Regions from separate parts of the Homo sapiens genome. Here regions 1 and 2 are each linked to region 3. The links are contacts of gene promoters, found by promoter capture Hi-C in blood cells and fetal thymus (Javierre and others, 2016). All regions are on one chromosome and are shown on one strand. Each heading gives the region's core, a stretch centred on a gene start or on the middle of the fragment in contact. The rest is flanking DNA. Distances are from core to core; before and after follow the strand shown. Region 1 overlaps SMCHD1 (structural maintenance of chromosomes flexible hinge domain containing 1). Region 2 overlaps SMCHD1 (structural maintenance of chromosomes flexible hinge domain containing 1). Region 3 holds the start of MYOM1 (myomesin 1).

The links. The method cuts DNA at HindIII sites, captures the fragments that hold promoters and counts their contacts. A CHiCAGO score of 5 or more calls a contact.
Region 1: a contact is called between a fragment that was not itself captured here and the fragment with the promoter of MYOM1 in region 3, in 2 of 17 cell types (megakaryocytes and non-activated CD4 T cells). The highest score is 5.7, in megakaryocytes.
Region 2: a fragment that was not itself captured here is called in contact with the fragment with the promoter of MYOM1 in region 3 in 1 of 17 cell types (megakaryocytes); the score reaches 6.7 in megakaryocytes.

What each region holds. Positions count from the first base shown.
Region 1 is chr18:2,688,205-2,692,878 of GRCh38, reverse strand. It overlaps SMCHD1 (structural maintenance of chromosomes flexible hinge domain containing 1), which reads right to left. Exons shown (of 48, transcript NM_015295.3): 6 at 4,371-4,485; 7 at 4,132-4,251. Among named protein-coding and RNA genes, the nearest start is that of SMCHD1, 35 kb to the right of the region's middle. The HindIII fragment of the contact is 2,312 bases long and covers 1,612-3,923 here.
Region 2 is chr18:2,663,766-2,668,703 of GRCh38, reverse strand. SMCHD1 (structural maintenance of chromosomes flexible hinge domain containing 1) reads right to left here. Exons shown (of 48, transcript NM_015295.3): 2 at 2,472-2,547; 3 at 1,673-1,834. Among named protein-coding and RNA genes, the nearest start is that of SMCHD1, 11 kb to the right of the region's middle. The HindIII fragment of the contact is 611 bases long and covers 2,296-2,906 here.
Region 3 is chr18:3,216,785-3,221,393 of GRCh38, reverse strand. It overlaps MYOM1 (myomesin 1), which reads left to right and starts at 1,426. Exons shown (of 38, transcript NM_003803.4): 1 at 1,426-1,591. RefSeq lists a silencer at 3,129-3,423. The HindIII fragment of the contact is 10,525 bases long and covers 646-4,609 here.

The DNA of each region.
Region 1 (4,674 bases), core at 1,518-4,017, 530 kb after region 3:
GGCCTGAGAAAGATAGGTTCAAGATAAATAAGACAGTGCCTTTGTGCTCTACAAATTCCATCTGGTAGGAGATGAAAAAACAAATGATTACAAAACAATATGCTATTATGTATGAAGATATGAACCAAGAGCTACAGAGGTAAAACGAGGGTGACAGTCACCCAGCAGATGACTGAATAATAACATTCCAGACAAATGAGAACATGAATTCAAGAGCATAAAGGAAACAAGGTAGTTTTAGGACATACGATAAACATGATAAAAGATGAAGCGGGATGGCTGAATTAGAGCAGTGGAAAGTGGGTGGAAGAGAGGATAGATGAAAGAAAATAATATAAAAGACAAAATTAAATGTGCTGAATGATTAACAAAAAGGATTACCAACTTTAACTGCATGGCTAGTGGATGCCAGTAATTGTAAAGGGTAGTTGAGAGGAAGACAGGAGAAGGAGAGAATAAGAAAGGTTTACGGATAATATTTGATCTCTTTCTTTTAAGAGACATGGTCTCTCAATGTTGCCCAGCTGGTCTTGAACTCCTGGGCTCAAGAGATTCTCCCTCCGCAGCCTCCCAAACTGCTAGGATTACAGGCATGAGCCACTGTGCCCAGCCAATATTTGACTTCAAAGGTACCAAAAGTGAGTTACTCCTCGAACACCTAAGAAAGAACATCTAATTGAACCTGGAAATGAGTGTACTGGATATGATCAGTTGGTATTCATCACCCATTCCTACCACCTTTTACTGTACTCTCTTGGGCTGCAGAGGTTGGAAGGCAAAAAAATACTGTTTGGATTGTGGATGCAAATTAGTTTTCACCAATTAGATGTACCAGCCAAAATGTGGATGCCAAAAATGAAGCAGAGGCTATTTCCTGAAGTTTTTTAAAAGTTTTGTGTTATCACACAAGGCACTGAAAGATCAGTAACCAGGTTTCAGGTTTAAAGTGTCAAAAGGCCACTGCAGCCCTAGTTATGGCCAGAAACTCTGTTTTCCAGTTTTGGAGCAATTGTGGCAGTGAGATCATTCCAACTCGTGGATCACAGATACAGCAGCGAGTTCCTGAATCCCAGACCCAGTGGTGGTCCTCTAACTGAATGATTATAGCAAATGTTGCAGCATCCCTCCAGGATAACTTCAGATTCCTGGCATCATTCTAGAAGGCTTAGCCCATAATTCATTCCTTTGGCCCTTCCAATAATCAGGTAAGCATCTAATTCCCTCTATTAAATATTTTCTGTTAAAAGGCCCAGGATGGTCTGTTTCCTTTACTGAAGCTAGCATGATTCAGTGTCTCAGTATTGAGAAAAGTTTTCACACGAAACACAGATTTGAGAGCTTTTGACATAAGTAGCAAATAACACATCTTTAGAAAAGGTAAGACTGTTGACTATAGAACAAGAACCACCAATTCCACCCACATTCTGAAAACTGCTCACAGATCAGAGATAGAAGTCCAACAAAAATAGGCTGGAAAAGACTAGTCAGAAAAGGAAACAGACCAGGTACTTGTTGGTACCCAAGAAATGTTTGTTGGGAAGAACTAAGCACAAAACACAGAAAAGGCTGGCAGAAAAATGGTGCTCCAAGAGACACAGTTGTATACAAGCTTTGTAATATGCACACAGTTTTGAAAACCACCTAAATTCTCAATTCCTATTTTTCACCAGTTTTATCATGGCAAGTAATATTTCCACCATTATATTTTATAGGGCTCTGTGGTGGTTAAGACAAGATGGAATACTGTTATGTAAAAATATCAAAATATGCAATTTGTTAAGTAAATGAAACAAAGAAAAGAAAGTAATGTCCTGCACAAAGGGTATATTAAGTTATCGAGAAAATAAAAGTGGATAATAAAATGGAAAAAAAAAATCCAACCCATCAACTAATGAAAGAAAAGGTTTTTTTTTTTTTTTTCAATTATCAAATGGCCAACATTTTGCTGCCCTCTCCCCTTCTCATTCTTTTGAAAAATAAATGATCAGAAATGTGCTTCCATACAGTTGTTGGAAGTGTATGTGACTTTGGGTTTAACCTTTCTGACAAGCAGTTTTGAAATACATGCCATGAACATTTAAAAAGTTCAAATTCAGGCTGGGCGTGGTGGCTCACACCTGTAATCCTAGCACTTTGGGAGGCCGAGGTGGGCGGACTGCCTGAGGTCAGGAGTTTGAGACCAGTCTGGCCAACATGGTGAAACTCCATCTCCACTAAAAAAAAAAAAAAAAAGAAAAAAATTAGCCAGGTGTGGTGGCATGTGCCTGTAATCCCAGCTACTCAGGAGGCTGAAGCAGGGGAATTGCTTCAACCAGGGAGGCAGAGGTTGCAGTGAGCTGAGATCATGCCACTGCACTCCAGCCTGGGCAAGAGAGTGAGACTCTGTCTCAAAAAAAAAGTTCAAATTCATTACCACAGCTATTAAAATTATAACAATCTAACCTAAGAAAAAAATCTGTAATTCAGGTAAGATGTTATGCAAAGATACTCATCGCAATGTCTTTACAATTACTGTAAAATCCTTTAAATAAGCCAAATGCTCAACAGAATCATGAAATTATGTTACATTCATTGAAGGAAATGTTATAAAGCTACTAAAAACCATTGTGTATCAAAATATTTTATAATGGGGAAATACTCAACATGTTAATTTTTTAAATGTGGGATCAAAACTATTAAGTATATATTTTAAAAAGCTGAATTAGAAGGAAATTCACCAAAATGTTTCAGTAGGCTTCTCTAGGACTTGGGAGTATTTTTATCTTCCTTAGGCTTTTCTATAAAGTTTCCTACAAGTTGTTTTAGAATCAGAAAGCCAAATTTTTAAAAGTTCAAAATTACCTTTTAAAAATTTTTTATTGTTTTTGAGACAGTCTTGCTCTATCGCCCAAATTGGAATGTAGTGGCATGATCATAGCTCACTTGCAGCTGGGCTCAAGTGATCCTCCCACCTCAGCCTGCTGAGCTGCTGGGACTACAGGCGCACACCACCACACCCGGCTTTTTTTTTTTTTTTTTTTTTTTTTAGTAGAGACAAGGTCTCCTATGTTACAGAGGCTGGTCTTAAACTCCTGAGTTCAAGCAATCCTCCCACCTCAGCTTCCCAAAGTACTGGTATTACAGGACTGAGCCACCATGCCCAGCCCAAAATCACTTTAAAATAAATATTTTCCCGTAATCCCAACACTTTGGGAGGCCAAGGTTGGAAGACTGCCTGAGTCCAGGAGTTCGAGGCTGCTGTGAACTGTGATAGCACCACTACACTCTAGTCCAGAGGGACAGAGTGAGACCCCATCTCTTAAAATAGTAAGTAAACTAACTTATATATTAAAGATTTTAGATTAAAAATCATGTTTCAGGCTGGGCGCGGTGGCTCACGTCTGTAATCCTAGCACTTTGGGAGGTTGAGGCAGGCGGATCACTTGAGGTCAGGAGTTCAAAACCAGCCTGGCCAACATGGTGAAACACTGTCTCTACCAAAACTACAAAAAAAATTAGCAGGGCATGGTGGCAGGCACCTGTAATCCCAGCTACTCGAGAGGCTGAGGCAGGAGAATATCTTGAACCTGGGAGGTGGAGGTTGCAGCGAGCTGAGGTTGCGCCACTGCACTCCAGCCCAGGAGACAGAGTGAGACTCCATCTCAAAAAAAAAAAAAAAGAAAAAAAATCATGTTTCAAACAAAGAAGAGTTGAAGGAATATACAATAAATATACCATTTACTTGCCACCAAGATTCAAATTTGTTAACATTTTGTCTTATGAACACAAGAATTTCAATGCAAACTTGTAAGAGCAATCTCTCATTTATTTCTCTAGAGGTCCAATTTCCTGAAAGTCCATTACCCTGTTACTGTTTTTCTACTCTATAATTTTATTATACAACAAAGATTTTAAAACCCAAATTCAGACCAGGGAAAAAAGCTTACAATCCTACAAGCAATTTACAGAAAGCTTAGTAAGCTTTATGAGACAACTTGTCTGAAGATTTTTGGCTTGAGAAAGCCCATTTTTGTTATTATGACTAAAGGAAAGGGTAACTCATTTTGAAAATTTCATACTTTCAAGTTAAGTTCTGTCCCACCGTCTATCCAAAGGAGTAAATTTATAATTATGAGTTAAAATGTATTGTACCTTTCTGTTTCTAATATATCCACTATATATTGCCTCTTTATTTTTCTCCTTCTTCTCAAAATCTTCTTTAGAAAGCACAAGCTCGTGAACATCTTGGGAATCTGCAGGTTTGCTTATCATCTGTTAAATATTAAAAAGAGTACTTTTTAAATTCCTAATAAACTGGTTAATGCATTTAGACAGAGTCAACTTCAAAATATTTTGATCAACTTTCATTTATAAGAAATCTTTTTACTTACTCTGGCTGATTGTCCAACAAAGAAGACAGCTTGCTTGCCCCCAACACCAAAATAGGAAATATCACTATTTAAACTGCGTGGCACTGGTACTGGACGAACATATCCTGAATGATCACTAAAATAAAACATTAATGCAGTGATTTTAAACAAGCTAGTTAAGTGTCAAAAGAAACTTTCATTGCACTTGTATTCAGTGTTAATAAAATGATCACGCCTGCAAACACCCCTAACTGAAAGGTGAAATAATCAGTGTCAAGACATCTACTCCAGTGCATCTCAAAGTGTAGTCCCCAGGCCAGATGCA
Region 2 (4,938 bases), core at 1,352-3,851, 550 kb after region 3:
GAAGGACTGCTAATAGCGAATGCATTCAACTCTCTGGAGGAGTTTTGCTATAAACAGGATCAAAAAATTTTAGGCAGTAGCCAGTGAAGGAAGTAAGACTTTAGTGTTTTTAAGATGGGAGAAGAGCTTTTTTGTACAAAAAGAACAACATGAGAGGTAATAAATATACTAGTTATATATTCAAGCTCTGAAGTCACTCTCCTAAAGTTTAAATGCTGGCTCCACTACTCACTAGTAGTGTAGCAAGTCACCTAAAATCTCTTAGCCCCAGTTAATTCTGCAAAACAGGATCTTTACCTATATTATTTCCTAACATTAGCTACCACACAGGATTAAGGAGTAAATGAGACAACGCTCATAAGTACTTGGTACAATGCCTGGCACTGTAGCCAATAGTAATGACAGCAGTGGTAGTGTTACATTAAGAAAGCACACACAGATTTAGTCACAAGAACATTCAGAGTCATTTGTAACCATAACACAATTAAAAACAACCTAAATGTCTAATAGAAGAACACTGTTCAGACCGGGCATGGTGGCTTATACCTGTAATCCCAGCACTTTGGGAGGCCGAGGCGGGAGGATCACTTGAGGTCAGGAGTTCAAGACCAGCCTGGTCAACATGGTGAAACTCCGTCTCTACTAAAAATACAAAAATTAGCCAGGCGTGGTGGTGCCTGCCTGTAATCCCAACTACTCGGGAGGCAGAGGCAGGAGAATCACTTGAACTTAGGAGGCAGAGGTTGCAGTGAGCCAAGATCACACCACTGCACTCCAGCCAGGGTGACAGAGAGAGACTCTGTCTCAAAAAACAAAAAAAGAAAAAGAATACTGTTCAAATAAATTATATTACCTAAATATTATCAAAATATACAGAGACATATATATTAAAAGATGTTCACTTTATTTTTAAACAAAATGTAGGTTAAAGAAGTATGCACCATATAAAACCATTAAAAATCAAATAATATGAAAAGGTCTGAAATGATAAACACCAAAGTGTTAGTGGTGGTTATGTCTGGGTAGTAGAGATATTCTTTATGTTCTATTTGCTTATCTATGTTTTCTAATTTCCTGCAAATACACATATAATGAGAAAAAAATAATTTTAATACAAAAGTTTACGATGAACATGTAAGTAGTATTAGACACTTTGGCAAGTCCTGAAAGAGAGGATTCAGTAAACTAATTGATTTGTAAAGATCACTAGCAAATGGTCCAGAGAAAGGACAGAAACTAGCAAGTAGTAAAGGTAGAAAGAAATGATAAAGACATGGAAATATGAACACAAACTTCTTACTTACGCAACCTAGCTATATGTATTTGCAAAGTAAAACAAGTATTTTCTTAATTGGGAAAGGTCTATGGGAGGCTAGGAAATCAGGAGAAGAGAGTATACAGGCGATGGAAAGCTGTATAGGTCAAGACCCCTTATGAGTTGAAAAGAAAAGTTCTACTAGTAGGTTAGCTTTAAAGGAGAGTTTTTTTTCACTGAAGATGACACAGGTAGAAGACATAATAATACCGTGATGAATTTGAGTAAGAAAGAAAATGAGTGGTCTTCTAATAAAGTGTAATAAGAAGATTTACAAAAAGTGAAGGAATGGGATACGTAATCAGGGGATAAAGGCAGGTAATAATTTATCAAAATTAGTATGAATGGGATACTTACGCAAAGGATTTTGTCCTTCACTGGCATAATATTCATACATGCCACTTTTAACCAGTGTGTCATAGTGAGGTAAGAAGTCAATTCGTTCTTTCGTAGCTGTCAGTAGTAACTGATTGACCGACTGTAGCAGGTATAAGGTGACTCCATCTTTAACAGTTTCATCTGTAATCAAGAGTGAAAATCATAAGTGCTAGGTCAGCATCAGAAACTCAATGAACTTATAATTGTGAATATACAAATTCTATCTATGAAATATCTTTAATGATGGTAAAGAAAAACCCCCAATCATCTACCTGTAAGCAAAGTCATGTTAAGGATATTAATGAAACAAGCACAAATACTTCCTTCCATTCATTTGAAACACTCAATTCTTAATAAGTTAAACTATCACAGGAAATCAGACGAGAATCTAAAATAGCGTAGTGTCAACATGAATGGAGAATGGTTAAATTCAGATGGAATCAGGCATGAAAAACCAGCAGGTCTTGGAAAACTAATTAGGTTAAAAAAAGATAATGGAATAATCCAAGTTGGTTAGCAAAATTAGCTTCAGAAGATTTGTGCTAGGCAGAATCATCTTCTGTAGCCATAACTGATATCAACTATTTTTCTATAATCAAGCTTGAAAAATATAACCTCTGTGCAGACTATGCACATGCAGCCAGTTTCCTCCCTCATCCCAACAAATTAACAAAAGTCATCAACAGATTTAGATGCATATCTAATAAAAGTTATTGCTATATATGTACTAAACCTTATTAAATATAAAAGCATCAACTTAGTAACACTGTTTACCTACCAAAATTATCACAGGTAATTTCTTTCCTACTTGTTGTTGTAATAACAAATTTTTCTTCAGGTGAAATGCCAAGTGTCTATCCAAAATAAGAAATAAAATCACTTATTACACAAAGGAAATAAATGTATTATTCAAATTTATAAAAATATGAAAATATTGATAGTACATTATAATTCTGTAACCACTACACTTATCTAGGAAATACAAAACTCAGTATATCTAAATTTTGCCTTTGCATAATTAATAGTGCATAAATCTATATAAATTACTTACTTAACAAGGTCATTTTTTCTGCTACTATAAGCAACCTAGGAACACTAGTGATTAGGTGGAACGTTTTAAAAGCATTTTAACATCATCAGCAGGACCCACCCAGACAAAAGACATAGTATTTCATACTAACGTACAAGTTATCAACTTATTTGGAACAAAGCTTTAACATAACTCATGTTCATATAGACTAGATATTTAAGTATGCAAAAACAAAATAGAAGAAAACAGAAGTTAGCATTTTATAGCACGGAGGGAAGAACAGCCATGCTTTGTAAGACATACAGGTCCATTCAAACGAATAACTTTAAAAATTAAAGCAAATTATAAATTAGAGGGAAACTGGCCAGGCATGGTAGCTCATGCCTGTCATCCCAGCACTTTGGGAGGCTGAGGCCGTCGGATCACAAGGTCAGGAGTTCAAGACCAGCCCGACCAACATGGTGAAACCCTGTCTCTACTAAAAATACAAAAATTAGCCAGGTGTGGTGGCGCACACCTGTAATCCCAGCTACTCAGGAGGCCAAGGCAGGAGAATCACTTGAACTGGGGAGGCGGAGGTTGCAGTGAGCCAAGATCACACCACTGCACTCCAGCCTGAGCAACAGAATGAGACTCCGTCTCAAAGAAAAAAAAAAATTAGAGGGAAATTGCAACAAGAAACAAAAGGGTGACAAGGATCAACAAAGAGAAAAAGTAAAAACACAAAAAAATGAAAAGGAGAAAATACAAATGACCAATGAACACATGAACTGTAAAATCACATTAATCAAAAAATGAGAATTAGAAAAGTGGTTAACATTTTCATTTACATTAGAATTAAAACATACATGCTCTGTCTAAAATGAAACAATACAGCAATATATAGTTAAGAGAAAAGGCTTCTGTTTCGGGTAGTAATGGACTAGTCTAAAGATTAACATTCTTATTGAAAACATCTAAAAAATCTAGACTAGTGATACTCAAATCTTCAAAAATGATATTAATAAAAACCATTATTGCTCACCACTGGGATGAGCTAGGGCACCAACTTGTCACTCTGAACACTGACAAATTAAAGGGAAAGAACAAATTATTTACACTGCTTTTCTTGTATCAATGGTACTTCAGGATAACCAAAATAGCTCTGGCTGATGAGGCAAAGTTGTTCCTTAAAGAATTCCAGCTAATAAACACAGGAGGAATGGCAAGTCAGATCAAAACTTCCTTATGGAGGAATCCTGCTGAAATCACGTGAATCCCAAGATTTTAATGTTAGCATTGCTATGAGTGGGTGAAACACCCACACATCACGTGCCTCCCAGTGTAATGCCATATGAAGTATCAGTACTACCTACAAAGCATTCTTTGCCTCCTGACCCCAAAGAAGTTGAACCTAAATCAAATCAAGCCTTTAAAGCTAACTTTTAGTTTACAGAATACATACGGAGATAAAACAAATTAAGTAACACCAAAAAAGAGCACAAACAAATCCATAATGTGGAATATTAAAGACCTAGTTGATTTCTTCAAGAGGTCAACTGCAGGAAAACTAAAGAGACTGGTGGAGGAGGAATTTGCTCAAATGCTTTAAATTGAAAATAATTAGGAAACAAAAAAAAAACAAATTTAATGTGAGGACTATGTCAGATCCTGATTTAAACAAACCAACTATAAAAAGATACTTTTAAACATTCAGAGAACTCAATATGGACAGGGACATTAGACAATATTAAAAATGCTTTATTTTAATGGTTTGATAATACATATTCAGGCTGAAGTATATGGGGTGAAATGACCTAAGACCTAGAATATGCCTTAAATACATTACAAAAACAAAAATGATCCTAGTGTGGTAAATTCCTATTAACTTGAATCTGGATGAGTACACTGGGGTTCATAACATGATTCTCTCTTTGTGTCTGAAGGTTTTCATAAGAAAATTTCTACTTTAAAATATCCTGGAATAGGCCGGGCGCGGTGGCTCAAACCTGTAATCCCAGCACTTTGGGAGGCTGAGGAGGGTGGATCACGAGGGCAGGAGATCGAGACCATCCTGGCTAACACGGTGAAACCCCGTCTCTACTAAAAGTACAAAAAAATTAGCCAGGCGTGGTGGCAGGCGCCTGTAGTCCCAACTACTCGGGAGGCTGAGGCAGGAGAATGGCGTGAACCCGGGAGGTGGAGCTGGCAGTAAGGTGAGATCGCGCCACTGCAC
Region 3 (4,609 bases), core at 177-2,676:
TTAACTGTAGTTATCATCAAGAAAGTCATGATGAAGTATACTATAATATTGAGTCTGTTCAATATCTTGATAGAGACTGGGTGCAGTGGCTCACGCCTGTAATTCCAGCACTTTGTGAGACTGAGGCAGGTGGATTACTCGAGTCCAGGAGTTTGAGACCAGCCTGGGCAACATGGTGAAACTCCATTTCTACCAAGAGTTAAAAAAAAAAATTAGCCGAGTGTGATGGCATGCGCCTGTAGCTACTCGGGAGGCTGAGGTGGGAGGATTGCTTGAGCCTGGGAGGCAGAGGTTGCAGTGAGCCAAGACTGCACCACTGCACTCCAGCCTGGGCAACAGAGTGAGACCCTGTCTCAGAAAGAAAAACAATTTTGATAGACACAGGTGACCTTTATTCAGTTGATGTAATATCACTGTCAGAACATAAGGCCAGTAGATCAAAATACCAACCTGCTGCATACATGTAATCTAACAATGAGCTTTTATATTATTGGTATCAGTAATAACAGCTGATATTTACTGAGTCTATATTATGTGACTGTCACTAGGTCAAGTGCTCTGTCTGCAGTATCACATTTAATCACCACAGCAATCCTATAATTTGGATATGATTATCCCCATTTTATAGACAAAAAACCTGAAGCTTAGGAAGGAGAAATAAATTGCTGGAGATTACATGGCTACTAAGTGCTATCAATATAGTGGGATCTAGATCTGGTCTGAATCCACAACACAGGCTCTCACAACCGGGTTACACCTCCTCTTAATTGGTCACACCATTTAAAGAACAAAGAAAGAGAATCTCTTATTAGATGGACTGACCCTACTCTGAGTTAGGAAAGATAAAACACTGAGTTGCGTCTCAAAAGGCTTTAGTTAATGAACAGGAAATCACATATTCAGGCTTGAAGCTAAGACTTAACCTTGTAAATTTTCCTGAAGTGAGAGAAATAGTGACCGTGATGTCAGGCAAAAATCGCCACCACGTGTAACCCATTTCTTCCTTGTTTTGCCTTTAGTTAGCTTCAAGTTCTTTTTTCACATTGTATCTTTTAAATGTACCGTACGTGTGTTGTTAACAGCACACTCAGAATCATATCTTGGCATTAAAATTCCACGAAGTCCATTTTGAGAATCATATTACTACACCTATTTTTAGCTGTTAACACAAACCACTCTTTCCATTACACTTTTAAATTATCTACTGATAAAGTGACATTGAAAATAACTCTTGTTGCCAAATAAAAACCCTATATTTGGTTTAATCGGGCCAGACCCATTGACCGGCATTATGCAATTATATTACTAAGGCTGCTACCTGCCCATGCCCCTCTCCTCCTCCTGGTTTGGAACTACCCTCCCCATCTGCTGCTATATTTATCTGCCTTCTTGGCCATAAAAGGCTGGTTGTGTGGCCTGACATTCGACTGCCTGACCACATGCATTATTTTTGAACTGGCCCCCAGGGTCCTGTCTTTAGCCCTGCCTCTTAACATTGTCTTGGATTCAACCTAGGTGGAGTCTTCATTCTCTCATCCAGCTCCTCGGCCTCATCGGAACATTTCCACCACCATTACTCCTTTGGAAACTGGTAAGTGTGACACTGAGGCAGAAGAATGCACTTGATAGCTTATGAGCTTAGCAGCAGTGCAGTGTAAGTGCTTTCTTTCTGTCTTCTGAACTCAGCAGTTTTCTCAAAGAGATGTCAGAATAACAGAGAAATAGGAAAGTGAAGCTCCAGGGAGGGAAACCAGAACAGCCGGGTGCCAGTCGGGCTGGCACAGCTCTTCTCTCACATCACTGTATTCTTCTGAAATTAAGCTGCTGTTCCTGGAACTGTAAGGAGGTCATATCTGCCTCGGATTGAACTGTAAGCGTGTGTTTAATGCTATTTCCAAGTACGGTTTGGTTGAAATCTGAAATGGATGAGAGACAGGAGGCCCTGCATTTTCAATCCTGCATGTGCCATACAATGCTCCCTGGTTACAAATTAGACCGAAAGAAGGAAAATTAACTCTGAAGTCACTAGTTTATAATTCAGGGATCTTGCTGTGACGATGCAATGTGGATAAATGTGAGCGCGCACAATGATATGGCCTCAAATGGTTAAGTAATATTTCAGAGGCAACATAGAGCCCCACATAGTGATTTTTCTGGGAATCGTTTTCATCAGCTTCTGCCCTCTAATGCCTGCACAAAAGTATCATAAATTACAGCTATGGAATTTGTATTTCTTCCTAAATTCTCAAATTATTTTCAGAAAGAAAATTTAGGTCTTAAAGAAACAAAAGACACTAAAACCATCTTTCCTCCCAACGTACTCCAGCCGTCATGTGTTGGAGCTAATCCTGGCTTTAGTTAACTTCAAGGGCTTACTTGATGAAGAGGAGGTGGTTGTACCTTTGTTCCAGAGGTCAGGGCTGTGACAATCAGCAATGTGGGCTTCAAGTCAAACCCTGTTTACTTGTAACTTACTATCTATGTGAGAGGAATAGTAAGTATTATTAAAAATAAATGTATTTGGGAGAAATAGAAATAAAGAGAGTAAAAAATAGTATTGGGGCAAGATATTTAAAGATTTTATTTTGTGAAAATAACAGCATTTCAAGTCATCTGGGGAATGAATTTAGTTTATAACATAACAAGTTTCTTTATTATTTATTTGAAAAATCATTCAAATAACATGTGCCATGTTACAATGTAGTATCATAACAGAAACTTCTCTAATATCTTTATAACTGCCTAACGTAATTCTGTATTAACATTTTCTAACCCCTTTGTTTTATCAAAATTCATCTAGTAGTTATTAATTATACATGGTAATTATCCTCCATATTTTGTAACAGAAAATAGCCATCTATTTAAGGGTTGAAGCAAAGTTGCTTGCTAGTAGCTATTTTTTTCCCTTAGGAAATGCCCTGTAGACTGATATCTTCCATGAACCCTAAGATAAATATTTCTGGAGTGAAGTTTGCTCAGTTTTCTTCTCTGGGGAATACATGCTGACTTTTAAAATAGTTTAAATAAAAAGTAGTTTTAAACTTGACAAAGAATATGCTGAGTTTAGAAGGATTCATTCTTCATTTTGAATTTTTTTAAAAATGACATTTGGAGAAAACAGATCACTTTAAAACTAATTCTACAGCATTAAAACACTTGGGGGTGGAGCTTTTATAAAACTATTACTTCATCCAGGGTTGTCAACGTGGCTGATAGGCCTGCTTCAGTGGATAAACTATTCAAGAATGCTAAGGCCATGTGACATCTCCCCACCCTATGCTAAACAAACATACCTTTGACTTTTAGTAGAACTGCTAGCTCAAGTTCACAATGCCAGCTGTCACCCTGGGAATCGACTCTCTTACCTCTTTAAGTAGGGAGACTAGAAGCCTGCATGTTCCTTATAGAGCAAACAGGTTTTTTTGTTTGTTTTGTTTTGTTTTCTGGTTTGAGACTATACCTTTGCTTGAAATGTTTGTGAGATTTGAGAGAGCTTATATATAAGATTAGCATACTCCAGGGTTCAGTTCTAGGACTTTATTTTACTTATTTTATTTTATCTTAAATTTTTATAATAGAGACAAGGTCTCACCACGTTGCCCAGGCTGGTCTCAAACTCCTGGGCTCAGGAAATCCTCCTGCCTTGGCCTCTCAAAGTGCTGGAATTACAAGCATGAGCCACCATGCCTGTAATTTCCTTTTCTGTGTATAATGGTCCTCATCTGTTTTCTTTTAGGACTTTCTTTTCCGTGTACAATGGTTCTCACCTATTTTCTTGGCTTTCGATACCACCTATATGCTGTTGACTCCCAAATGTATATCTGCATCCTGGACCTCTCTCCTGCACTCCAGAGTCATGTATCCAGCTTCCCACTTAAAATGTCTCCTCTGGGAGGTCTAACAGGCATCTCAGATGTAGAGCATTGAAACCAATCTCCTGTTCTTCCACCCCAAACTGATACTTTCCCACATTCCTCCCCATCTCAGTTAATAGCAACTTGTCTTTCAATTGCTCAGGCAAAAACCTTGGAGTCATCTCTTTCTTTCACATCCTAATTCAGAACTTTCAGCAAATGCCATTGGTTCTAACTTCAAAAGCTGTGCAGAGCTTGACCACCTCTCACACTTTCGCTGCTACCCCTGTCACCTCTAGCCTGGACCATTGCAGTGGACTTTGTATTCTTTTGCCCGGGCTATCATAGCTAAGCGCCATGGACTGGGTGGCTTAAACAACAGAAACTTATTACCTTACAACTCTGGAGGCTGGAAGTCCAAGATCAAGGTGTCAGCTGGGTGGTTTCTTCTCAGGTCTCTTCTCGGCTCATGGATGGCTGTCTTCTCCCTGTGTCTCCACGTGGCCTTCCCTCTGTTATATACATATTTGGATCTTGGTTTTCTTTTCCTATAGAGACACCATCATATAGAATTACGGCCCATCCTAATGGCCTAATTTTAACTCAACTTCCTCTTTAAGGACCCTATCTCCAAATATGGTCACATGTTGAGGTACTGGAGGTTAGGGCTTCAACACAGGAATTTTGAGAGGATACAACTCAGCCCTTTCATAGGTCTTCTGGCTTTCACTCTCATCCCTCCACAGTCCATCTTC